Linked DNA regions of Homo sapiens: region 1 is linked to region 2. Evidence: promoter capture Hi-C in 16 types of primary human blood cells and fetal thymus (Javierre and others, 2016). All regions are on one chromosome and are shown on one strand. Each heading gives the region's core, a stretch centred on a gene start or on the middle of the fragment in contact. The rest is flanking DNA. Distances are from core to core; before and after follow the strand shown.

The links. Contacts are between HindIII fragments. The CHiCAGO score rates a contact against its expected background, and 5 or more counts as called.
Region 1: a fragment that was not itself captured here is called in contact with the fragment with the promoter of CNOT1 in region 2 in 1 of 17 cell types (non-activated CD4 T cells); the score reaches 8.1 in non-activated CD4 T cells.

The regions. Positions count from the first base shown.
Region 1 is chr16:57,738,375-57,741,074 of GRCh38, forward strand. The region is part of intron 2 of KATNB1 (katanin regulatory subunit B1); the gene reads left to right. Among named protein-coding and RNA genes, the nearest start is that of KATNB1, 4.0 kb to the left of the region's middle. The HindIII fragment of the contact is 6,249 bases long and covers 1-2,700 here.
Region 2 is chr16:58,628,486-58,631,185 of GRCh38, forward strand. It overlaps CNOT1 (CCR4-NOT transcription complex subunit 1), which reads right to left and starts at 1,341. Exons shown (of 49, transcript NM_016284.5): 1 at 1,243-1,341. RefSeq lists enhancers at 418-1,094, 1,095-1,770, 1,219-1,428, 1,719-2,208. The HindIII fragment of the contact is 12,291 bases long and covers 339-2,700 here.

The DNA.
Region 1 (2,700 bases), core at 101-2,600, 890 kb before region 2:
CCTCCCGAGTAGCTGGGATCACAGGCACCCGCCACCACACCCGGCTAATTTTTGTATTTTTAGTAGAGACGGGGTTTCACCATGTTGGCCAGACTCGTCTCGAACCCCTGACCTCAGGTGATCCACGTGCCTCAGCCTCCCAAAGTGCTGGGATGACAGGCATGAGCCACCATGCCTGGCCAAGACTCCACACTTTTTAACCATGAATTTAACCATAAGACTCTGGGCAAAGCTCTTTGCAGGGCCTCTGTTTCCTTGTTTGTAAAGTGAGAGGTTTGGGCCATTTTCATGTTGTTCCCCAAAACTCTAGGGCTCTGGGAGAACCCTGTTATGGTTCCCCAAGGAAGGCACACTTTGGTCAGAGTGGCTTTGTAATTATTGGGATTACGTATTCATCCCTTCGACAGCTGGCCTTTCCCCAGAGCTAGGCACTGGGGAGCCACTGGGGGACAAAGTAGTCAAGGTCTCTGTACAGCGGGAGCTCAGAGCCTGGGGAGAGCAACAGGCAGGAACTGGATAACCGTATCCCTCTGTGTCTCCTCTAGTTGCAAGCTGGTGCCTGTGCTTTGAATCAGTTAGCTGGGGGGTAGGGGTAGGGGTGGGGTGGGAATGCTGCAGGCTGCATGAACAGCAAGTGCAAAGGCCCTGAGGCAGGAGGCTCAGTGTATTGGAAGGACTCAAGGGAGGCCATGGGCAGTGGCACAGCAGCAGGAGGAATGTGGGGCCGCACGGACCTACTGAGTTCTCAGGACCCCAGCCCTCCTGAGGCTGCCGTGCTTTATCATAAAGGCAAGGCCAAGCCATCAGTGTGTGCGAGCAGGAGGTAATGAGATCAGGCGTATTGGGCATCTGCTGCTGCTGCTGATTTCATGTGCACGGTGGTGTCCGTGGGAATCAACTCTGAAGAGCCCAGGGCCACGTGACCTCTGGCTCCTTGTGGCTCCAGGGTCTGGTGAGGATCAGAGGTGCGTGGCCCACATGAGGTCGTTGAAACCTAGTACTTTGTATCTTGCATTTGGGATGCTGATCCTCAGCCCCTCTGGCCACGCCGCACCATGTTCCCCAGCTTTGGCTGGATGTGGGGCCCAGGTTGTACTCCCAGAGCTTGGCCTGCCAGTAGACACTGAGGATTTTTATTTTTTATTTTTGGTATGAAAATCAAGTATTCGGCCTGGGCTGTTGGTTGCTGTCCAACAAGCCAGGATGAAGGAGGAGCTCTTGGGGTGGTGCCCCGTGCCTCCTTTGCAGGTGCCTGTGCTGTGTCCCTGCCCCTCTGCCCTCCCTCTGTGGGCTCCAGTCAGTCCCTGGTCAGGCTGCTTAGAGGGGAGTGATGTGGGCTCCTCCAGAAGGGCCCAACTTCTAAATCTTTCTCACTCCAAAGTCTGCGGTTTTGCCAGCTCAGTGTCCCGCCCCCACCACCATCTGATTATACTGGGGCATATTTCGTGCAAGGCCTAGAACAGGCACCCAGGAAATACTGATATTATGAATGAATGCCCCTGACTCCAGGGGCAGCAGTCCTGAGGCCCAGTGAGGTGGGGCCCAGCCAGACACTTTCCCTGGGAGGAGTGAGGGCCAGGGGACAGACAGAGCCCTCCAGGTAGGCCAGGGGGAGCGAGCAGTGCCTCCACGGAGAGGACACCAGGCTCGGGCACGGAATGCCAGGGAGAAGGTGCTTTGCCCTCTTTCTGGGTCAGGTGGAAACCTTGAACAGACACGTCTGTGGCTGGAATTCCTCAGGTTTCTGTCCCGACAGTGTCCAGAGGACAGAAGGCTCTCATCGAGACGGGACTAAAGTGGGGCCCAGCTCCCTGGGATCCCCATGGCGAACTCCCAGCGCCCTGGCCCAGGTTTGGGCCCACAGGGAACCCTCGCCCTTGCTGGCGCTGCTGCCTGTGCTGGCTCTGCCCCGACCGGCCCAGGAGGCAGGGTGTCATCAGTGAGATTCAGCCTGCGACTTGTCCCCTGGGTATTCCTGGTGGCCCCTTGGAGCCCAGGTTTCTGGCAAGCAGCTTCCCTGGGCCCAGTTTCCCAACCTCCTTGTGGTCTGAAGCCCGCAGCAGAGACACCCAGGCAGGGTGGAGTCGGAGCTGGGGTGCAGGAGGGGCCTCTGTGGAGCGCCGTGGCTCCAACACCCTTTTCCTTGGCGTCACCCACGCTGGCCTTCCGGGTGCCTCGGGGCGTCAGCACCTTGGGGTTTTCCCCTGGCCTGTGTGGGGAGAACTGTCTTTTTTCTCCCTTCTTTCCAGGAGGAGCTCATGCAGGGATGGGTTCTGAGGCCCGGGCCGCCTCTTGGTTCCCTGCCTGTGCTTTGCTCCCTGCGGAGTCCTCCGAGGCTCCTGTCTGCCATCTCCACGGACCAGGCCAGGGCCTTGGGCTGTCTGCACAGGCTCCTCCTCTGTGTGGTCAGCCCTCACCCCCACCCCAGCTGCTCAGTCTGTTGCCTCCTGCCCCCTCCTCATGAAGCCCACCCTCTGGTGCCCGCCCAGGCCCCCATGCCCACTCTCTCATGGTGACTAGCCCCGAGCCTGCCCAATGTCACGGAGCCCTCGCCTGCTACTAAGCAGCACGTAGGCGCGCTCTGAGGGAGTCCTCAGCATCAGGTGTGAGCAGACACCACGGGCATCCCCACTTTCCAGACGAGGAGCCAGGCCCTCAGAGGACAAGTGACCTAGTAGCCAAGGCCACGCAATAGCAGAT
Region 2 (2,700 bases), core at 91-2,590:
CTTCCCTCATTTTTTTAATCCATGTATTCCCTATTCCTATCAAAGGGGCTGTCATAAGGAAAACGTTCGGCATTGTTTCAAACAGTATAATTATATTCACTCAATCACTGACTTAAAAAAAAAAAAAAACCCAAGTAGTCACAGGCTATCGAATTGTAGAGAAATCGGCAGGGTAGGTTAAGCATTGTTACTCAGTTTTCAGGAAGAAAACAGACTTTATTAGAGTCCTAAGAAATGTGACATTTGATTAACTTCATGGGAAAAGTTTGTCATAAAGTTTATTTTAAATACAACATTTTCAAACGCACAGATGTCAAGCATTCTTTTTTAATCTACAAAGCTTACTCCTCGGGGAGTTAGTATCTGTGAGCCCTCTTGGGTGAATTCTGCAAAGGAGGTGGTACTGAAAAAGTATTATTTGTGTTTGGCCTTAAGTACCTCTACAAGACCTGCCGTGGATCTTATCAGCCTTGAGGCCTACAAGTGCTCAGCTCACTAGCGGGACACTTGTCCTGGGTGAGCAGGACCGCCACTACTGCAGACACCGGACCGAGTAGGTGGGGGCCAACTTCAAAGAAAGTGTGAGCGCCCAGGCGCGCGAGTGGAACAAAACCTGTAGCAAGTAATAAGGAAGTGCTTGCTCCCGCCCGCCCTTCCCATCCGGGGACACCCGAAACCTGGGGGGCTTTGACAACGTGCTGGGGGCGTAAGACGGGGAGAGTGGCAGCTCCGAGTACACGGAGAAGAACTGGAAACATGCAAAAACTCCAAACACGGTCCCCCCCGCCAGAAGCCCTAGGCCTCGGAAGCCGATGCCCACTGCAACCATCAGGGAGCAGAGACAGAAACAGTAGTTAAGGAGGTCGTGGAGGTCTCAGAGGGGTGCAACCCGCGCGAAGCCAGGCCCAGCGACACGAACTGCCGCCGCTGCCGCCCCCTGAGCCTCCAGGCCCGGGACAGAGACCACCATGGGTCTCACCCCGCGCTCTACCCTCCGCTTCCTGGAGCCTTCTCGCTGGCCTCTCATCTTCAGAGCGCGAAGCCTCCGAGAGCCGTGTGGAGAAGAGTCCGCCCTCTCCCGCCTCGTCCCACTTCCCCGTCCCGGCTGCCTCTCACTCCCTAGAGCTCCGGGAAACGCTTCCAGTGGCCCCAGGTCCACCCCTGTTCCTCCTCCCACCGGCTCTCGCGTTCCCAAGCTGACACCGCCACCCTACCCTAGCCCCTGACGCCAACCCGCCTCACCTCAGGCGGCTCCGGCAGCGCTGGACACAGGAAACTCCTGGGTCCCCGACTCCGGCTCTCCTCGACCCCCTCTTCGGTTAACTCCGCTTGTTTCTCTACAAAATGGCGCCGGAGGTCGCGCGCTCACGTCGCGGCCTTTCCCCTCCCCGTTCCCATTTCATCATTCGCTGCCCGCCCGAGGAGGGATGGCCCCAGAGCCAGCCAATGGCCGCGCCCCGCCTGTGGCTTCTACCCAATCACCGACAGGTGCCCGCGGATTTAAACCAATCACACTCTATCACTTGCAGAAGTCGAGGAAGAAATCAGGCTCCTGCTAGCAACTACCAATCCGGCCTCCTACTTCGCGGACTTTGGCCAATTGCCGCTCACCAGGCCCAGGGGACCGGAGTCAGAGCCCTCGCGCCTGCGCTCGAGGCGAGGGCCAATAGGGAGAGGCTGATAACTTCGATTTGGGGCTTCACGTACTTCCCACCTGCCCTGGAGGGCTGCGACCAGTGGGGCTTGGCATTGCCTTTGAGGAACAATAAATTATGGAAGGGGCCCATAACTCCTCGCCACCCTGCGCGGGAACTACTTTGAATTACAGTGAAACAGCTTTCCTCCACTTTCCTTCCTCTTTCGAAATGTCACGGTCCAGTAGACTTCGGGGATTCCCAACCGAAACAATCCCCTCCCCTAGTGTCCCTTTGGCGGGGAACGCCAGCCAGAAAGCAAGCCAGGTTGTGACTAGAGTTGGGGCGCTTTGCATCCTGGGATGTGTAGTCGCGCTCCTCTACCCCGTTCCCATCGCAGAAGTAATGCGTCTTCGTTCGTCGCTGCGCCCTAGAAGGAGCAGTGCATGCTGGGGGTTGTAGTCACCCAGGTGGCCACCTTGTCCTCGCTTGCTTCGCTTTGGTCAAGGGAACTTTCTGTTTTAGTTCTGTCTATTGAAGAAGGGACACCTTCCAGAGACGCCTTCCAGAGACGTAGGAGACGCAAGTTCTCTTCCTGGCTTAAGTCCTAGAAGCCGTCTAAGAAAGGATACCCATGTCCTTTGCTCTCAAGAGAAAAAGCATAGAAACATATTTTGCTATGGTTTGTTTGTTAACTATGATAGTTGGTAAGATTTTATACTCACCTGTACCCAAAAGAGAAAGGATTGGGAAGGAAGTGTTGACTGGTTAGCTCTATTACCTTTTGAAATTAAGGCCGGGCGCGGTGGCTCACGCTTGTAATACCAGCTCTTTGGGAGGCTGAGGCGGGTGGATCACGACGTCAGGTGATCGAGACCATCCTGGCTAACACGGTGAAACCCCATCTCTACTAAGATACAAAAAATTAGCCGGGCGTGGTGGCGCACACCTGTAATCCCAGCTACTTAGGAGGCTGAGGCAGGAGAATCGCTTGAACCCGGGAGGCGTGGGTTGCAGTGAGCAGAGATCGCGCCACTGCACTCCAGCCTGAGCGACAGAGCAAAAC